7 separate regions of the Homo sapiens genome follow, and all the other regions are linked to region 3. Evidence: promoter capture Hi-C in 16 types of primary human blood cells and fetal thymus (Javierre and others, 2016). All regions are on one chromosome and are shown on one strand. Each heading gives the region's core, a stretch centred on a gene start or on the middle of the fragment in contact. The rest is flanking DNA. Distances are from core to core; before and after follow the strand shown. Region 1 overlaps LOC105376435 (a long non-coding RNA gene). Region 2 overlaps CUBN (cubilin). Region 3 holds the start of HACD1 (3-hydroxyacyl-CoA dehydratase 1). Region 4 overlaps CUBN (cubilin). Region 5 overlaps CACNB2 (calcium voltage-gated channel auxiliary subunit beta 2). Region 6 overlaps CACNB2 (calcium voltage-gated channel auxiliary subunit beta 2). Region 7 overlaps CACNB2 (calcium voltage-gated channel auxiliary subunit beta 2).

What was found. The method cuts DNA at HindIII sites, captures the fragments that hold promoters and counts their contacts. A CHiCAGO score of 5 or more calls a contact.
Region 1: a fragment that was not itself captured here is called in contact with the fragment with the promoter of HACD1 in region 3 in 5 of 17 cell types (megakaryocytes, M2 macrophages, erythroblasts and 2 more); the score reaches 10.1 in megakaryocytes.
Region 2: a contact is called between a fragment that was not itself captured here and the fragment with the promoter of HACD1 in region 3, in 5 of 17 cell types (M0 macrophages, M2 macrophages, megakaryocytes and 2 more). The highest score is 8.8, in M0 macrophages.
Region 4: a contact is called between a fragment that was not itself captured here and the fragment with the promoter of HACD1 in region 3, in 4 of 17 cell types (megakaryocytes, M1 macrophages, erythroblasts and 1 more). The highest score is 6.8, in megakaryocytes.
Region 5: a contact is called between a fragment that was not itself captured here and the fragment with the promoter of HACD1 in region 3, in 3 of 17 cell types (monocytes, M1 macrophages and M2 macrophages). The highest score is 5.4, in monocytes.
Region 6: a fragment that was not itself captured here is called in contact with the fragment with the promoter of HACD1 in region 3 in 2 of 17 cell types (monocytes and M2 macrophages); the score reaches 5.8 in monocytes.
Region 7: a fragment that was not itself captured here is called in contact with the fragment with the promoter of HACD1 in region 3 in 1 of 17 cell types (monocytes); the score reaches 7.9 in monocytes.

What each region holds. Positions count from the first base shown.
Region 1 is chr10:16,819,885-16,822,660 of GRCh38, forward strand. LOC105376435 (a long non-coding RNA gene) reads left to right here. Exons shown (of 3, transcript XR_930708.3): 3 at 944-1,373. Among named protein-coding and RNA genes, the nearest start is that of RSU1, 3.8 kb to the left of the region's middle. The HindIII fragment of the contact is 1,317 bases long and covers 863-2,179 here.
Region 2 is chr10:16,836,662-16,839,429 of GRCh38, forward strand. The region is part of intron 62 of CUBN (cubilin); the gene reads right to left. Among named protein-coding and RNA genes, the nearest start is that of RSU1, 21 kb to the left of the region's middle. The HindIII fragment of the contact is 2,657 bases long and covers 1-2,588 here.
Region 3 is chr10:17,616,073-17,618,772 of GRCh38, forward strand. It overlaps HACD1 (3-hydroxyacyl-CoA dehydratase 1), which reads right to left and starts at 1,302. Exons shown (of 7, transcript NM_014241.4): 1 at 1,011-1,302. The coding sequence starts at 1,267. RefSeq lists a silencer at 843-1,502. The HindIII fragment of the contact is 16,531 bases long and covers 1-2,700 here.
Region 4 is chr10:16,855,258-16,858,046 of GRCh38, forward strand. All of the region lies in intron 59 of CUBN (cubilin), which reads right to left. Among named protein-coding and RNA genes, the nearest start is that of RSU1, 39 kb to the left of the region's middle. RefSeq lists a silencer at 989-1,189. The HindIII fragment of the contact is 308 bases long and covers 1,271-1,578 here.
Region 5 is chr10:18,308,534-18,311,466 of GRCh38, forward strand. The region is part of intron 2 of CACNB2 (calcium voltage-gated channel auxiliary subunit beta 2); the gene reads left to right. Among named protein-coding and RNA genes, the nearest start is that of CACNB2-AS2, 48 kb to the left of the region's middle. The HindIII fragment of the contact is 3,209 bases long and covers 1-2,933 here.
Region 6 is chr10:18,267,043-18,269,958 of GRCh38, forward strand. The region is part of intron 2 of CACNB2 (calcium voltage-gated channel auxiliary subunit beta 2); the gene reads left to right. Among named protein-coding and RNA genes, the nearest start is that of CACNB2-AS2, 7.0 kb to the left of the region's middle. The HindIII fragment of the contact is 5,111 bases long and covers 1-2,916 here.
Region 7 is chr10:18,291,628-18,294,471 of GRCh38, forward strand. All of the region lies in intron 2 of CACNB2 (calcium voltage-gated channel auxiliary subunit beta 2), which reads left to right. Among named protein-coding and RNA genes, the nearest start is that of CACNB2-AS2, 32 kb to the left of the region's middle. The HindIII fragment of the contact is 3,675 bases long and covers 1-2,844 here.

The DNA.
Region 1 (2,776 bases), core at 271-2,770, 800 kb before region 3:
CACTTCTGTTTCATAGGAATTTGTTTTCACTCCTGTTTGAGATAGGAAAAACCAAACTGTTTTTGCTACTCTCCACTGGCTCAACACTTCTGACACCAGAGAATCCCCCACACATGAAACAGTTCTCCAGCAGACACCAGCTCGGTGTCTTACAGTTTAACTTAATTCTGACACTGTCTACCTCAACTTATAGTCAAATCCCACAAGTTAAGGGTTCATTTCCACAAGACTTTAGGTTGACTGTCACCTACACTTCTGACTGACCAGCTATAAATCAGGGTTCCCACACCCCCTTCTCAGGTTTGATTAATTTGCTAGGATGATGGTTAGCCTGTCCAGGGTCCTGATTGCTAGCAGTGAAACTTCATGGTGACACAATTTGGAATCAGGAAACTTATCCCTTGGCCACTAGATCTGGGAAGTTGGCTCAATGTATGTTTCACCAGATAAGAATATTAAGGTTTTTGCCTCAGGACTGGCTCAGGAAATCAAGCAAGATGGAGCTGGGAAGTGTGCTTTGTGAAGCTGGGAGACATCAGCTGATAGTCTTGTATGGCTGTCTTGTTCTCTGCTTTATCCTCAGTGCGCTGAGTACGTATCACATAGCTGATGCTCAATAAACATTTGGAAACAAGTGAATTAAATGTAAAGCAGAACCAGAGGATATACGGTGGGTCTTACGAATGAGAGTACAGTTGACTCTTTTCTCCTTCTTCCAGCTGAATTACTCAAAAACTGAATTACTCAATAACTACTTCCCTTGGCTATACACGAAAATGTCATGCTCCCAAGCCTGACCATCCCTAACCCACTAAAAAATCACTGCTTATTTCCTAGATGCCCAGCCTGGAAGATTTTGTAAAGCTTCATTTTGTCTCTTTTTTTCTGTATTTTTAATTTTAAAATTACATAATAATATTGACTATGCTTTCCTCAATTTCAGGTACACACTTCCCAGATATTCCAATATGCCTCCTAGAAAAGCATGCCCTTCTGAGTGGAAATGATACCGTTACTCTAATGATGCAGTCCATGCTCTAAGCATCATTTTTTTGACAGTGACATCATGTTAATCTTTCTTTCAGAAAAGTACTATGTCATTTCATGTTATTGTTAAACTTTCCCTGTATTCTGTACTTTTGCAATTCATTTTTTGATAAAAGAGGAAGATCTTATATCTGTCACATTTCGTCTGTTACAATTGGCCCATTGTTGTAGCTTATCAAGACCTTTTGGATTTGATGGTGTTACTTATCGCATTCACTGTCCTTTCCAATGTAATTGTCACCCATAAAGTTGATATGTCTATCCATAATACAAAAAGGGAGCAGGAATTGTTGTTGTTGTTGTTTGTTTTTTTGAGATGGAGTCTCATTCTGTAACCCACACTGGAGTGAAGTGGCGCGATGTTGGCTCACTGAAACCTCCGCCTCCTAGGTTCAAGTGATTGTCCAGCCTCAGCCTCCTGAGTAGCTGAATTTTCAAGGTTAGAGTATTTTATTTCTGTGGCTCCATACTCTGTCCAGAAATAATTATCTGCCATTTGAGTATTAGAGTAAGATGAAGTTACATTCCTCAGCTTCTCTCATTCACATGGTCTTTTGTTAATAACCCTTGATTTTGCATAATTAACATAAAGCAAATCTCCTTTGTAAAGGCTTCCGCTTTTCTAGAGGCACTGAAAAACTTTATAAAAGCATTGAATTTTCTTATGAAAAGGAAGCTAATAACTACCTCACTTAGTTACATGTCTGGCAGCATTGGAGATAAGGATGTGCTACTGAACTTTCTACTTCTTGTTAAGTGGCAAACCATATTGTTTATTTATAACTTAACATATTGTGTTAAGGAATAGGCAATGGTGGTGCTTATGGAAACTTTGTACTCCTGAGCGTAAATACATAATAGAGTTTGGATATTTGTCCCTGCTCAAATCTCATGTTGAGTTATAAAAGCCAGTGTTGGAGATCGGCCTGGTGGGAGGTGTTTAGATCGTGGGGGTAGATCCCTCATGAATGGCTTGGGCCATACCCTTGGTGATAAGTGAGCTCTTGCTCTGAGTTCACATGAGAGCTGGCCACTTAAAAGTGTGTGGCACCTGTCCCATACTCTCGCTGTCTTGCTCCTGCTTTCACCGTGTGACATGCCTGTTTCCCCTTCGCCTTCCTCCATGATTATAAGCTTCCTGAGGCTGCCCCAGAAGCCAAGCAGATGTCAGCACCATGTTTCCTATAAAGCCTGCAGAGCTGTGAGCAGATTAAACCTCTTTTCTTTATAAGTTACCCAGTCTCGGGTATTTCTTTATAGCAATGCAAGAATGATCTATTACAGAAAATTGGTACCAGGAGTGGGGTTTTGTTATAAAGATACCTGAAAATGTGGAACTGACTTTGGAACAAGATAATGGGTAGAGGTTGGAAGAGTTTGGAAGGCTCAGAAGACATAAAGATGAGGGAAAATTTGGAACTTCTTAGAGACTGTTTAAAAGTTGCAACTAAAATTCTGATAGTGATATGGATAATGAAGTCCAGGCTGCCAAGGTCTTCGATGGTAATGAGGAACTTAGTGGGAACTGGAGCAAAGGTGACACATATTATGCCTTAGCAAAGAACTTGGCTGCATTCTGTCCATGCCCTAGGGATCTGTGGAAGTTTGAACTAAAGAGTGGCAACCTGGGGTATCTGGTGGAAAAAATTTCTAAGCAGCAAAGTGTTCAAGATTTGGGCTGGCTGCTTCTAATAGCATGTGCTCAGATGTGGGAGCAAAGAAATGACTT
Region 2 (2,768 bases), core at 10-2,509, 780 kb before region 3:
GCTGAGGCCTGTGCCATTGCTCTGAGGATCTAGGCTGTTTGAGAGCTCACTGGATCTCTCCTCCTGGGGCTTTTGCCATTGTCCTGAGCTCCATGGGACTAACAACCACCATCACCCTGATCCAGCCCTTGCTACCCCTTAGCAAATCTAATCAGAGCCTTTGGTTCCACTGTACATCCCCCAAGCCAGCCGGGGCCTGTCATGAGGTACCGGTTCCCCTTTGTAACACTAGGGCAGCCCTCATCACCTCTCAAAAGCCTGGAGTAAATGCAGTCGAATGCCCATCAGTTCTTGGGTAAAAACAAGTTGTACCAAAGTCAGGGTATTTGCAGCCTCCCTGTCACAGGAATGTCTCTAATATCTGCAGTTCTTAGGAACCTACTGAAACACCCCACCCGTCTCTGCTTGCAAAACTCCTGTAACTGCTCGGGGCTTCCACCCCTCTTCCCCACTGTCTCCTGCTCTTGGTCCTTGTCTAACTTTGCTGTATCCTGTGAACTTTAACTGCACTGTCAGTCATTCTCGGTATACATCCCCCACCTTTCCACTTTGTGGCCTTAGCAAAACCTGGTTCTCCAGCAGCCTCCTGGTAGAGGCTGTTCTTTACCCATGCTCCACAGTTCATTGAGTGGGAAGGGTGGGGGGCCAGCCTCGGGGGAAGGGAGGGAGGCTCCACATTCCTCACTGCAGCTTCCATCCTCGTCTCAAAGCTGGTTCTCCTTCGACGGTCTCTACATCTGGCCAAAGATATTCTTACCATTATCGTCACTCTCATTTACTTTTCTCCCAGTTACTTCCCTTCATTTATGAAAGACTTGAGGTGTCTCAGCTCATAGTCATCTCCTGCCCCTGATTTCCTTTCTGAACCCTTTAGAGGTTTCTGTGTTTTTATAGACAAGCCATTAAACACCCTCAACTTCATATTTCTTAACCTTAGGGCCTTCTATCTCTGCATCTCTGTTCATCTCCAGTGCCAGCTAACCACTGAACATCCTCCGTAACCACCCTACACATCATTCCTTCATGATCTGCCAATTAGGGCTGCTCTGTCTACTCTTGGATACCCCGAGAATCCCAGTTTCTCCCAGCTCATCCGTCAATGTTTGTCTTTCCTCCCTACCTACCCAGTCCGAAACCCTTGATTGTTTCCTGTATTCATTCAGTGGAAAACATTATTCAGTCATGACAAACACTGGGTCTTACTCGAGGCTGCTCCAGCTGCTGTTATGTTTCAGACGGTGTCTCGTGCCCTGAAAGTGCCATTCTGTGCCCCGCTGAGTGGTCCACCCTGATCCCCATTGTCTTAGCTTCGTGAAGCCAGGGAAAATTGAGAGAGCTTTCACCCAAAGGGCCTGTTCCACTTGGCTGTAAGTCCTCTAGGGTACCAATGGGTAATAGAGATTTTGTCCTGAAAACCATTACCAATGGAATGACGATAATCTAGCATCTTGTCCACCTTGGGAGCTCATCTCAGCATATATGCTTTGCACCAAACTCAGCAAGTCCAGGGTCTATTCAGCTGCCAGCACATCTCACGCCTCTCCACTCTGGAGTCACACAACCTGGACTTTTCTTTCCCCAGCAAGACCACATGAGAAGCAGGGGACCCCAGATTTATAATGAAGGGGACCCTGAAAACTCAGAAGACAACAGATACTCTACTAGTCCAGCATATGGGGCTTTGACCATGACATTTTACTGGAATGAACTGGGGAGGGTTAGTTGCTCCCCAAACTGCAGAAAGACAATCCAGGTATTCTCAGATGTTCTCCTGGTATCCATCCTCAGTTCGTGGCCAATCCCTTTGCATATTTTCCCCAGATAATCTCATTCTTCTCATTTTTCAATTACCTATCATGATAATGATGATGCACAAAAATCTTTGGGCCTTTGGTCAACAACCCACTTTGTGTCCAACTGTCTCCTCAACATCTTATTCCAGAGGAAATTCAGACTCAGCCTTTTTTAAAGCTCAAAATGGATTTTGTTGTTGTTGTTGTTGAGACGAAGTCTCACTCTGTCACCCAGGCTGGAGTGCAGTGGCGCGATCTTGGCTCACTGCAACCTCTGCTTCCCAGGTTCAAGCGATTCTCCTACCTCAGCCTCCTGAGTAGCTGGGATTACAAGCGCACACCACTGCACCCAGCTAATTTTTTGTATTTTCAGTAGAGGCAGGGTTTCACCACACTGGCCAGGCTGATCTTGAACTCCTGACCTCAGGTAATCCACCAGCCTTGGCCTCCCAAAGTGCTGGGATTATAAGCATGAGCCACCACACCCAGCCCTTTTCTTTTTATCTCTCTTATATTACCATGAATATAAACCTATCAGACTAGTGCCAAACAGCCTCTTCACTGATTCTCTTGTGTTCTGTACTGACCCTTTCAATTCAACCTATACATAAATCCCACTAACTAGAGGTATTTCTCCAAGCATGGTCCATGGAGTTCTGGTACTGGCACCAAAACACCAGAGGTGTTTGTCAAAAATTCAGATAAATGGGTGTTATATGGGGGATTCGGTCTCTGAGGGTGGGCCAGGGAGGATGCACTTTTAAGATGCATCTTAATGCATTCTTAGGCACATGAAGCTTTGAGAGCTCTGGACCTGCAGGACCAAGTTCAAGTTTCTCGACACACCTGATTGGAGGGCTTTGTGTATGGATGAAAAACACATTAAGCTGGAAGTAACTTAGAAAATTATTTCATCATGAAACAAACCACTCCATCAAAAAGTGGGCGAAGGATATGAACAGACACTTCTCAAAA
Region 3 (2,700 bases), core at 52-2,551:
CCTGGCTAACATGGTGAAACCCCGTCTCTACTAAAAATACAAAAAAATTAGCCAGGCGTGGTGGCGGGCGCCTGTAGTCCCAGCTACTCGGGAGGCTGAGGCAGAAGAAAGGCATGAACCCGGGAGGCGGAGCTTGTAGTGAGCCGAGATCCCGCCACTGCACTCCAGCCAAGACCGAGCGAGACTCCGTCTCAAAATAAATAAATAAATAATAAAAAGAAAAAAAGAAAATAGTAAACTTTTCCTCGCGTTTACATAAGTTAATACTTCGAGTGATAATGGGAAAATAACTTTTTTAAAAGGCAGTGCAATTGAGAAATGGAAAAGCATTTTCCCAACAGGTTTTGAGAAGCAGTTGACACAAAAGTCACTTTGAGAGCTCTGCGAAGAGCGACAGTCATTGTGTAACCTTAACTTGCAAAGTCATACTCAAAGCCAAAAATCAAGGTCCAGCTTATCAGCCACGGAGCCTGAGGCCATAAAGATGCTGGGCAGGAGCTCCACGCTGGGATAAGTGGGGTGGTTATTTCAAAATCGTCCCAAGTGACAAGCTCTAGGACGTGCTGTGCTTTAAAAAAAAAAAAAAAAAAAAGTCGCGGTGAAATTAACAGGGGCGAAAACTCTGCCCAGCGATCGCAGCATGAAGCTCTGCGCTCCCGAGACCATCGAGTGGCCAGGGCTGGGCGCTCCTTCAACAGCAGCGAAGGCAGCGGCGCCGGGGCAGCAGCCACCTCCCCCGCGGGCCGGCACCGCATTCCTGCCCGGTTCTATACTTAACCTCCGGCCAGCGCCCCGCCGTGCACCGTATTAGGCAATGCCAGGCGCGCAGGGCCCGGCCCCCCCGCCCGCTCCATTCAACCCCGGCGGTGGCCGCGGCGACAGCTCCCTTCCCCCACGGCCGCTGCCCGCACCCCCCGCGCCCCTTACACCCCGGCCCGCGCCCCCTGAACCCGGAACCTCCGCGGACCGCGGCGCGGGGAGGGCCCGAGGGTGCCCCGCGGCGCGCGTACCCCGCGGTCATGGCGATGTCGTAGAAGGTGAGCCAGGCGGTGGCCAAGACCCCCAGGCGCCTCCGCTCGCCGGGAGCCTCCCGGTCCTCGCCGGCCTCCGAGGCGCCGCCGTTGGTGCCGTCCTCGTCGCTGGACGCCATGGTGGCCGCGCACCTGGGGGACGTGGGAGACAGCGGCAGGAGCGTGGGAGGGGACCCTGCCCAGCCTGCAGCCCGAGAGCCGCTGCCCGCTGCCGCCGCTTCCGTCAGGCGCCCCATGTGCAGCGCGCAGGGGGCTCGGCGCAGCCAGCTCTACCGACCGCGAGGGGGAGGAGCGGACGCCCCCGGCCACCGCCCGTCACGCCCCCGCCCCGCCCCGCCCCTTGGGAGCGCGCGCCACTCGGGGGCCAGAACGCCTGGCCCTGGCACTGGGGATCCAGGACCCGCGAGCCCCGGCACGCTTTCCAGGCGGCGCTGTAGTTTCCGCTCCCGAGGAAAGTGCACCCGCCTCGCTAGCTGCGGGCGCCTCTTCATAGAGAGACGCCCAGACGCCTTGCGCCCTGGCGATGCGCACCCTGCGAGTGCATTTAGTGGGGACACAGGGAACGCACCTGAACTTGGCGTGGCTCTGCCCTGCCTGGCCTTTTGTAAGGCAGTTTCTCAATACGCAGGCAGGGAGCGGGATCTTCCCGCCACTCATTCTTTTCTTTTTAGAGATGCGGTCTCAGTCTGTCTCCTAGGCTGGAGGGCAGTGACGTGAACATAGCTCACTGCAATTTCGTGAGCTCAAGCAATCTTCCCACCTCTGCCTTCCAAAGTTCTGTGATTACAAGCCTGAGCCACAGCGCTGGGCCAAACATTCATTCATTCTTAAGAGCTTCTGGGGAAGAAACGCCTATTTCGCCCTGTTTCCCGTTTACTAGCGAGTCCAACAGGTCTTCCAACAGTGAGAAGACCGTCCCACTTGAGTGATTTTTTTTTCCTTTTTCATTTCTTATTTTTTTTTTTTTTTACAGTCTGGAGTGCAGTGTTGTGATCTCGGCTCACTGCAACCTCCGCCTCCCTGATTCAAGAGATTCTCCTGCCTCAGCCTCCCGAGTAGCTGGAACTACAGTCATGCACCACCACGCCCGGCTAATTTTTGTTATTTTTAGTAGAGACGGTTTCACCACGTTTGCCAGGCTGGTCCCGAACTCCTGGCCTCAAGTGATCCACCCGCCTTGGCTTCCCAAAGTGCTGGGATTACAGGCGTGAGCCACCGCACCCGGCCTCACTTGTGTGAATTTTACCGGAGCGTGTGTGTGTGTGTGTGTGTGTGTCTGTGTGTCTGTGTGTCTGTGTGTGTGTCTATTTACCAAGTGTCAGGCCTCTGAGCCCAAGCTAAGCCATTATATCCCCTGTGACCTGCACGTATACATCCAGATGGCCTAAAGTAACTGAAGAATCACTAAAGAAGTGTGGCCGGTTCCTGCCTTAACTGATGACATTACCTTTTGAAATTCCTTGCACCTACTGAAATACAACCCCCAAATTCCTGAATCCTCCCATTTTATTAGCTGTGTGAACTTGGACAACGTAACCTATCCATGCCTCAGTTTCCTTAGTGGAAATAATTTTTAAAAATCGTGAGCAGAGATCGCCCGTTGCACTCCAGCCTGGACGACAGAGTGAGACTCTGTCTCAAAAAAATAAAAAAAAAAGGAAAGGAAGGC
Region 4 (2,789 bases), core at 175-2,674, 760 kb before region 3:
TTTTAATTCTTCAGTATCTCTCTTTGCACTGCACTAAAATGGAGAGTATATTTTTCTGTGCACTTGATGTTAGGCTTAGCCCTACGACTTGCTTTAGAATGAGTGTTAGTGGTCATGAAGCAGCCAGAGGCCTTAAACGTGCTTACGTTTTGTTCTTGTTTTTATTGTTGTCTAGGACTTTGTGCTCCTGTGATCCACTAAGATATCATGTGCTGAGTAACTGCTGGTTCAAAGAAAAAGTGGATTCATGTGGAGCAGACTTGAACCCAGACTCAACTTTACAGCCAACTACAGCCAACCCGCAGCTTGGAACGGAGGCAGGCAAGCTAGTCCGTGGACCCATAAGTGATAAAAACAAATGCTTTCATTATAAGACACTGAATTTTGGATGGTTTGTTAAGTAGCACTGTCATGGTAATAGCAGACTAATACACACAACTAATATTAATAGCTTGTTTGAGCTATCAAACTATAATAGAGCTCATTGTTCAATTCACAAAATATACACACAGAATAAAGAACATGGAGAAAAATATCATGAGATAATCCTGGCCAAAATAATCAAATATTTGAAGTGAATATCATATTACATGAGTGAACAGTTATTTGTGTAGTGCAGGGAATAGCAATTGCTCTAATTCCCCCTCTTTAGTGCTTAAATATAGCAAAACTGCTCCATGCAAAATGAAATGTAAGTGTATATGTCTTTGAGAAAACGTAATGATCAATATTAACAAAAGAAGGGTTCTTTCCCAAAAGGAGCTATTGCCACATTGCTCTTTCTGTGTTTCAATGGTGGGGGAATATAAACAAGGGCGACCTCTGTGACTATGCAATAGAGTCCCACGCATCAGAAAGTCATATATATTTACCATACTGATATTTTGAAATTGCATTTTTTAATGTATAAGCCATCTTAACCTTGATATGTTTAGCATCACCAATCCATCATTTCCTCATTACTACACATTTTGGGGCCACCTAGACAGCTCTCATCCATCAGCACCTGCCTCATCAATCAGGTGTGTCAGTCACTCTCTGATGACACACCCTGCGTCCAAGAACAAACGTCACTCTTTCTTCCCTGAATTGGAAATATCTCTCTCACACAAAAGAGCCATTTCTTCAGAGAAAATACATGTTTTGGCTAAAGAAATATTGGAAATATAACCCCATAATAAGGAGTGAGATCCAGGTCTAAATCTACTTAATTAAAAATCGGTAACCGAATCCTGAATTATTACCTTCCAATGACTAAACCTCAGAGTGAAGCTTAAGCCAAGATCAATCTGATAAGGGAAAAAATAGTTACATTCTCTTGGATAAAACATCTCGAAGGCTTCAGTGGAGTTAGATACATTTTTAAATCATTATTTGGAGAATTGACATTTTTGTGGCTCACATTCTATACGGCTGACATTTTCCTGAGGTTGTCTGGATAGTATCTCTGCCTGTCTCTGGTTGACCACTACTGAGAAGGTGCACAGTGTGCTGTACGAGCAGATACAGACTGGCTTGACTTCAGGCCCTCTCCTGTTTCCAGCAAGCCATCTGTGGCTTTAGGCTGCAGCTGAAGGAAGCTTTACTGGAAACTACAGGAAGCAGAATACAAAGACATTTAAAGCTGGTGCCTTAGGGAAATTCGAGCACACCTAGACAGCTTCCTTTCTACCACCCAGGGATGCAGGGCTAGAAATGCATTATCCTTTTTTGGAATCAGCCTTACTGTAATTTATAAAGCTGCAGATACACAATTGCTCCAAAGCAGTGTATTCATGTAAAAACATTCTACTAGGTTTCAGACGAACCTGTTTTGTCTTTTTCTCTAAAAGTAAACAGTGTTTATTATTTTACTCCCTAATCTCCAATGTGTACAATACTTCAGGTATAATATTTATGTTTTACAAGAAAAAAGTTAGTAGTTTTTGTAATGAGGTTTTTTATTGTTTTGTTTGTTTTTAGTTGCTTCACTTAATTTGACTCACTTTAGTTATCCTAATTTGAAACCCAGCTTAATCTAAATTAAAATGTGTATTTAGTCTGGTAATATTTAGGAATCATAAAACTAAAAGAATGGTAATTTACTAAAAGAAAGGTAATTTCAGCAAGCTAATCAGTAGCTGTAGTTAATAGAAAAAGAGCAATACTTGTATAAAGAACTTAGGAGAAGGAAAATTTTATCGTTATCTTTTAATTTATCTTGCATTATTTAGATATCACTGAAAATGCTCTATGCATACATCATTAGCCCCAGGGCATTTTATGAGAATCATTCTTTCCAACTTGGAAATTAAAAAAATAATTTACTAAGCAAAATGACATGATCATGTCAGTTGATGCTGAAAAAGGATTTGACAAAATCCAACACACATTCATGATAAAAACTCTTGGCAAACTAGGAATAGAGGAGAAATTTCTTGACTTGATAAAAACCATCTGCAAAAACCTACAGCTAACAGCATAATTAATGGTGAAATACTAAACGCTTTCTCCCTAAGATCAGGAACAAGGCAACGATATTGATTTCACACCCCTCTAACTCAGCGTAGTATTAGAATTCTTGCCAGAATAAAGCAAGAAAAAATATATAGAGAGACTGGAAAGGAAGAAATAAAATTTCCACTTTTGCAAGTAACTATTAGCTGCAGAAAATCCCAAGTAATATGGAAAAACATTCTTAGAACTAACATATGAGTTCAGCAAGAACTCAGGATAAAGGAACAATACACAAAAATCAATCAAATTTTAATATACTAACCATTAACATGTGGAGACCAAAATTAAAAAAC
Region 5 (2,933 bases), core at 112-2,611, 690 kb after region 3:
TCACATTTCTTGAAAGATCATTGTAAAATGGCAAGTATATTTTAAAATGGCAATGCTGTAAAAGCACTCACAGTGATTTCTTGGGTTACCACTCAGCTTCCCCACAAGGTCACTTTCATGAGATCTGGCTCTTGGGGTCAGAATGAATTGTAGGTTGGATACGCATCAGCCTGCCAAAAACAACCCCAAGTGTGCCAAGTATGGGAGCCAGCAACGTTACAGAAGGCATACGGTATGCCTGACACCTTTGGCTCTTGGCAAAATGAGCCAAGGGTATGACTTGACAACTTTTTTGGGTGAACAAGTTGTCCCTTTTGTATCAAATGTCATCAGCTCACTGATGTGTATTTGCTGATGTCAGCCAGAAAATGAAGCACTTGCAAAAAATGCAATTTTAAAGCAGTCATATTTGAATACTAACTTCCACTGATTCTCATTTGGGTTTGGAAGCAATGCACAATTGCCCTTAAAATAGAAAAAAAAAACTTATTCCTCGGAAGTGATGCTGTCCTTCTCCCCTCGTCGTTACCAATTTTTTCACTAAAATGAATATTGTCAACAATGAAGTAAAAGTGAAGCTGTCATTTGATATGTTTCTGAAATTTTAAAATATTGAATGGTTATTTTCAGACTAAATATGTTATCTTATTTTTTATATGTTTAAAGGTAGCAGGAAAAGTGACTCTTGTATTTATGACGGGAGAAAGAGGGGACAATTCAGAAACAGAGAGGGAGACCAATAGAGTCAAAAATGTCTCCAACAGTTACATAAGCACCAGACTGCCAAGAATTTTTACACTGAAGCCGGAGCTTGACTGGGAAGTAGAGGTACACATCACATGAGAACACAGGTGGTTGGGTCGGGGCTGCATGGTGCAGTTCAGGTCTTCAACAGGGTAGACTCTTCAGAAAATGTGGATTTTTCTTTTTTCCTTTTTTTAGTTTAGTGGAGCCTCGCTCTGTCGCCAGGCTGGAGTGCAATGGTGCGATCTCGGCTCACTGCAACCTCTGCCTCCCGGGTTCAAGCGATTCTCCTGACTCAGCCTCCCAAGTAGCTGGGATTACAGTCCCGCGCCACCATGCCCAGCTAATTTTTGTATTTTTAGTAGAGACAGCGTTTCACCATGTTGGCCAGGCTGGTCTCAAATCTCCTGACCTTATGATCCACCCGCCTCAGCCTCCCAAAGTGCTGGGATTACAGGTGTGAGCCACCTCGCCCAGCCCAGAAAATGTGGGTTTTATTTGATCTGGTGTATTTCTGTTTGTTTCAGAATAGATGTCCGGATAAACAGTCACCTGAGAATGAGGAAGGTGTGTGTTTTCAAACCTGCACATAATAAAAAGACTATTGATAAGATTATTAGAATGGAGATAGAAAACTAATTTTAAAATTAACATTATTTTGCCATTTAGAAATGAATAAAGTTATTTCTGATACCAGTTATTTGAAGAAATATCATCAGAGGACTTAATTTATATATCCAACTAAAAATGATGGCAGTGCTGCTGTTTCTAAGCTGTGTGTAAATACTCAGTTACAGTTTCTTAATTTGGTCTCAAATAGATTTTTTTTTTCAACTTGCGTGCTACAGGTTTATTTTTCTGTTGTATTTTCAGCAATGTTTTAAAACTCATTCTTTGAAATTCTAAAATTTGTCAATTAAGATTGGGTTTCGTAGTTCTTAACATCTTTTATCCTCTCTAAAATTAAGTCTACTTTGATGGTAATAATTAGGTTTACTGTGTTGATAAACTAAGGAAAGCATACAATTTAAAAAAGTGATTTTTTAGGCTGGGCGTGGTGGCTCACGCCCGTAATCCCAACACTTTGGGAGGCTGAGGTGGGCGGGTCACCTGAGGTTGGGAGTTCGAGACCAGCCTGACCAACATGGAGAAACCCCATCTCCACTAAAAATACAAAATTAGCTGGGCGTGGTGGTGGATGCCTGTAATCCCAGCTACTCAGGAGGCTGAGGCAGGAGAATCAGTTGAACCCAGGAGGCGGAGTTTGTGGTGAGCCAAGATCATGCCATTGCACTCCAGCCTGGGCAATAATAGCAAAACTCCATCTCAAAAAAAAAAAAAAAAAAAAAAAGTAAAAAAAAAAAGAAAATTATAAAGAAAAGAAACCCACCCACTGGGTTCGAGCAATTCTCCTGCCTCAGCCTCCCTAGTAGCTGGGATTACAGGCATGCGCCACCATGCCTGGCTAATTTTTTTTGTATTTTTAGTATAGATGGGGTTTCACCACATTGGCCAGGGTGGTCTCGAACTCCTGACCTCAAGTCATCCACCCACCTTGTCCTCCCAAAGTGCTGGTATTACAGACCTGAGCCACTGTGCCCGGACTGTTTTCTTTCATTTTCTGTTTTGGTTTACAAACCTCCACTTTAGTCTTCAAATACATTCATTTTATTAATTATGCTGACCATTGAATTTTTTTATGCTGGCAAGTATATTTTAATTTCCAAGGACATTTCATTGCCTCATCAGTACTTTTTCATAGCTTTTTGTTCTTGTTTTATAAATGCAATAATCTCTTGACTCTCTCTGAAGATACCAATTTGGATTTTCTGCTTGTTTAAGTTTGCTTAAGTTCCTTGTATTTTTGTTTCCCTGAAATTGGTTTATCTGCTTATTTTGGACCTTTTAGGCTCTTCTTTCTTTTTATTTTCCAAATATCTGCTTTTACTTATTTGTCCATCCATATTTGTGAATGATTGACTACTTTGGTTCATTATAGGCAGGTGGCATGGGTTCCTCTGGAATCTTTTAGTCTTGTTTTCTTAGTAGTCTTCTCATCTCTAAATGAGAGGGCAGCTGCGGCTCCATGTAGATAGGTAGGAGTATAGACAAACCTTGAGCAATGTGGCGGTTAGGGGCGTTGACCCATTGCACAGTTGGAAATCCATATACAACTTTTGACTCCCCAA
Region 6 (2,916 bases), core at 174-2,673, 650 kb after region 3:
TCTGTCTCCTTAAATCACTCAGAGCTTTTCCAGATAATGTCTTAAGATGTCCTTTAAGGGTGATATTTGGCTTTTAAGACCTCTGTATCTTTGAATGTCAAGTTCATATATGTATTTTCGTAAGAAATTGATAACTTCATATTTGGAACTGCATTTTTTTTTTATTAATAATAGCTTTTAATATTGGCCATGTTAAAATCCTTAATTTTTTTCAGAACTTTAAATTTGGCTTTAATTATAAACCTCACTACATAATGACATTTTATTAAAATTAAATAAGGGGCTGGGTGTGGTGGCTCGCTCCTGTAATCCCAACACTTTGGGAAGCCAAGGTGGGCAGATCACTTGAGGTCGGGATTTCAAGACCAGCCTGGCCAACATGGTGAAACCCCATCTCTACTAAACATACAGAAATTAGCCAGGTGTGGTGGCGGGCACCTGTAATCCCAGTTACTCAGGAGGCTGAGGCATGAGAATCACTTGAACCCAGGAGGTGGAGGTTGCAGTGAACTGAGATCACACCACTGCACTCCAGCCTGGGTGACAGAGTGAGACTCCATCTCAAAAAAGAAAACAAAAAAATAAAAAGGGAAATGAGGTAAACTTTCATATAAACATTAAGAAGCACAGAGGCGGGAAAATGAAATTAAGTTGGTGGTTGGCAACCTCTGGGCATGTGTAGAGAATGAGCTTGTTGGTGCATGTTCAGGGTCATGGGACCCTCTGGTTGCCTTAGCATCTCCCAGCACAGCCCCAGTTAACACCTATCACTTTTTCTTCCCATTGGAGAGGCAGTTTCATGTGTGAATGACACTTCCGGGGCAGCGGCCCAGCCTTTGCACACCAGAGAAGCTCCTGCAAGTTACTTCATCACTCTGTGCCTCAACTTGCCTTTCTATGAAACAAGAATAATAAGAGTCTTACTCTTAAGTTTTCTATGATTATTAAATGTGTTAAACTATGAAAACACTTGGCACGGAGTAAGTACTCAAGTAAATGTGAACTGTTTCAATTGTGATTATTCCCACCTCCCTCTGCATCTGAGTACAACTTCTCCAGTGCTGAAAAAGAGCAGTCCCTTTTAGAAGGATGCCTTCATTGTTTTAAAGAAAGCTCTTGTAAAGCGTATTGAATTATGTAGGAATGTAGTGGTCATCATCTAACTGTTCATTCATGAAGCAATTACTGAGTCCCTGCTCTTTGCCCAAGGCTATTCTGAAAGTTAGAAATGTACAGAGGAATTGAACCTTTCATCTCTGTTCTCAGAAAAGTCTAGTCTAGCAGTGGAAATATATGAGTTTCCGGAACATTAAAATGTGTTTGACATAACAGGATTATCTGACAATAGGAATAAATAAATGGTATACCACCTATAGTAGGAAATAGCATATAGACATTAAAGAGAAAAGGCTAGATTTGTATAGACTTACGTAGAAGGAGGTTTATATTCTGAGAATACGTTATATAAAAATTAAGACGTAGAGCAATGTATATAGTATGATTGCATTTATTCTACATGTGTTTGCATTTATATTGGTGTTTGCATGAGTAGAGGTCTAAAAGACTTTACCAGTATACGAACAGCACATGAAAATGAGATTATAGAGGAACAGGCAGGATTTTACCTTTTACATCATTAAGTATGTTGCAATAAGTATGTTTTAATTTAATAATACATATTTAATGTGACAAATGCCTTAAAATTAATTTATCCCTCACCTTTTCCCAGAAAGGCTTATAAAATTTAAATATGTTATCTCCTACCTCACTAGAAAACACTCAACCTGAAATGCATTGAGCAAAAGTAATTCATAAATGGAGGAGTCTACTGATTGAGAAATTGTCATATGTACTCAAAGTATTTTGGAATAAAGAAGGGCAAGGTCTGGCCTTCTTCTTGATCAAGAAGTGTCTCATAGCAGCACTGCTATGAGCTCCCAAATGTCCTTTAGGTCTGGCCTTCATGAGATGTTATATGTGGAGGTGCTTAACTGTGGGTTAGGGTTAAGTCCTTTGCTTTGCATGATAAGAACCTGTTTCACGAAGGGTGATCAAGTCCTACTGAGTTGATTTGCACTGTGGTACACCTTCGTTGCTGGCAGATTTCCTAAATAAATAAAGGTCAGAAGGAATATATGAGATCTAAGCAGGTGAATTTACATCATCTTAAGAGATATTTCCATTAATTTGTGCTAGCCTACTGAATTATCATCCGTCACTAAAGATACACACAACTCATGATGGTCACATGGTCACATCTGTTAGACATGGCCCCATCCCACTGTCTAAAACACTTTTCCCTTCACTTCTGTGATACCACATTCTCCTGTCTCCATTTTTTTCTTCCTATTTCTCCTAATCTACATATGATATATTCAATGTCTTGCCATATTGCTATTCCTTCAGGTGGTCATGAGTCCATCCTCAACTCTAGAGAAGCTGGTGAATGGTAACATAACATTTGAGGAATGCTCAAAAGAAAGAAAATCTGAAAGAAAATAGACCTAGAAAAAATGGCTAGAGAAATTGAAGTTAAACTTTTCTGCACATACGCTGATAGCTACCAAATCAATATGCCCAGCCCAGATCTTTCTTCCAAGTTTTAGACCCATATTCAAAAGTTTCCAGACATCTCTATTTGGAAACTCTCCAGGCACTGTAAACATGGTTATACAAGACTGAGCTCCATCCTTGCGGTCCTGTTCCTCCCTCTCTCTGCTCCTCCCTTCCACTCTCCCACCACTACTTATATCTACTCCTCATTTACTGGTTAGATTAAATGACACTTTTATACTCTCCATTGTCCAAGCCAGAAACATGGTCCTGTCCCTCTTCTTTACTTTCTGATCCATTCAATCATGTTCGATCATTGCTACTTCCTTGAGAGCTCTGGAATCTTTTCTTTCTATTCCACCT
Region 7 (2,844 bases), core at 296-2,795, 680 kb after region 3:
TGCATTTGGGTAACAAAGACGTTTGGAAATATACTCCATTGGATTTTCCATGTTGGTGAAACTATTGTTGACCGCTTCAGTACTGTATGTTGCCATGCCAAAATCACCTAAGGGCAAAAATGTCTCCTGGGTAAGTAGATGTTGATTTTATATCTCTTAAAAAGTATATTTTAAGCAGAAACACATGCTTTAAGAACTTAAAGACATCTAGTTGTTTCATGTTGGTAAGAGTATTTGGAAAACCTTCAGAAAGCATTTGTCTTAGAAAAGCATATAAATATCTTTGTAAGTGTTAGAAATCCTTTGGCAAAGTCACGGTGGAGTGCTTGCTAAAATATGAACTATAAGACATGTAAACACTCAGTTTGTTTTGCCATTTTTAGGTTTTTAGGTTTGCTTCACCTTTGCATACACACACAGAATTTAAAGTGCATTCATACAAAGTCAAGGTTATGATTTTAACATGTTTTCAACTCCAAAACTGTTTGTGTTGAGTAAAGATTGCCTAGATTTCTTTTTTGGGGTAAGTCAAATGTTAAGGGTAGAATATGTGATTTTCATTATTCAGTGATATTGTTGGTGTGTTCCTTTTTTCCTTGGAAACAAGATAGCATAGCTGTTTCTTAATTTTACGTATCTAAGTAATTGCCCTCAATCAATGATAGACATGTATAAAGTTTAACATTTCAGTAATAACAACGGCATGTTAATCCTAATCAAATTTGACTCCTTAATATTGTTTCAAGGTGGCTGGGTGCAGTGGCTCACGCCTGTAATCCCAGTACTTTAGGAGGCCGAGGCGGGCAGATCACGAGGTCAAGAGTTCGAGACCAGCCTGGCCAATATGGTAAAACCCCGTCCCTACTAAAAATACCAAAATTAGCTAGGCCTGGTGGCGAGTGCCTATAGTTCCAGCTACTCAGGAGGCTGAGGCAGAAGAATCGCTTGAACCCAGGAGGTGGAGGTTGCAGTGAGCTGAGATCGGGCCACTGCACTCCAGCCTGGGAGACAGAGTGAGACTCCATCTCAAAATAAAATAAAATTATATATATAGATTTAAGGTAGTTTCCTACCAAAAACACAAAACCTACCAGATTGAGCTCAGAATAACGAGAACAATCTGTAAACTCTTAAAAAATAAGGGCTTTAGTTTCCTGCTATCATGTTAAGTGAGCTTGATACATTAAAATTAACAGGCAAATGGATTCCTTTCTATTCTGTACAGAAAGTTGTGTGTCTAAACACCAAATTTTTTACCACCAGCCCATGCAACCTCGACCATACTCATCATAGAATTTATTATTAGATCATCATTATGGTTTTTTGGCAATAATGTAGGAAAAATAAATAATTCCATCTTTTTGGTCAAGAGATAACGTTTACTACCTTAATTTGAAATTCACCAATTAGGTTATTCTTACTTTATATGAAATAGCACCATATTTGTCTAAAAATGGTTATTGTGGCTTTTTTCTGTTATAGACAGTTATTCTTTAAGAGTACTTAATTAAAAGAGGTGTACCTTAGTTTGAAACACAACTCTCAAAATTATTTCAGAAAAATTGACAAAATTTTTGAAGTTAATTCGCTTTTAATAATGGATACTTTTTGTCTTCATATTATTGTTATCGTTGATTCTTCACTTCCTCTTAGTAAAACCAAGAGATATGATTCAGGAACCTTTGGCCTAACTGGTGAGTTTCTTTCCCTCCTTATACGGATGGGTCCAAGGGCTAGTTCTGATGTCCAAATGTGAGTTTGCTACTTTCTGCCAGCACATAAACATTAAAGAAAAGAGTCGTTTCAGAAGTACATCCCCTCCTTCATCTGATTAATACTCCTAAAAGATTAATTCTGTCAAACTAGTGCCTGCCTAATGGCATGTTTCTACCATGAAAGCAAAACTTGAAACATTAAGCTCAGACTCTACCCTTGGGTTGGGTTTACTTCATACTCAATTATGCTAATATTTTTTGAAAAGTTCAAGTTGTTGGCTAAAAATTTAGGAGCACTTATTTCAAGAGAGTCAGCATAGTTTCATTTCCTCAGGTTAAAAATTCCCCGGTGTATCCCACACTATTACAAAATGCCTCTGTACCAGGTTTGTCCAAAGATGAGTTATGAGTTTAATGACTGCCATATTACAGAGAATACAGTCATTTGGTTGGTGTGTGCTGATTATGCAGTGGTCCAATCATTCATGTTAATGACTATGATAAAATTCCTTAGTTTGACTTTAGGGCATAGAGAGAGAGACTTTGAAATGTTGATCATTGCTTCAGTTTTCACCAGTCACGGTTTTTTAGGTATTGAATGACGTTTCCCTGCATTTTTTGGCTATGTGAAGTGAAATGTATCTGGTCTTCCTGCTTTTGCCACTGGCCAGTTTCCATTTGGATATTTATTTAGACTTGAGTTCAGGAGGAGAATAAAATGATTCCCCTTGTCTCTTTAACCACATAGTAAACTTCCCAGTGGTGACAGAAGATCATGTAACTCTTCCTCCCTGGCCCCTCGGGCACGTTTCCGAGACCTGCTTCACTCCATGTGATAAACATGAACACATCTTGTGGAACACTGCAAGCCCCAGAGTGGACCACCACCTTCTTTCTCCTGTTCATGCCTGGTCAGAGTGGTATCTAGGCAACTGGTTAAACTGCTTGACAGTGTAGCTCTCTGTGCAATGGAAAAGATGATAGCAACCAGCATGTTCTCTGAGATGTGCTGAGGCTTATCAGATCATCCTGGTACAAGGGTTCGACATTCATTCAACAAATGTTCACAGAGTGCCTCTTCTATGATCCTCTAGGTACCGAGGACGCAGTGAAAAAGATCCTTGAGAAT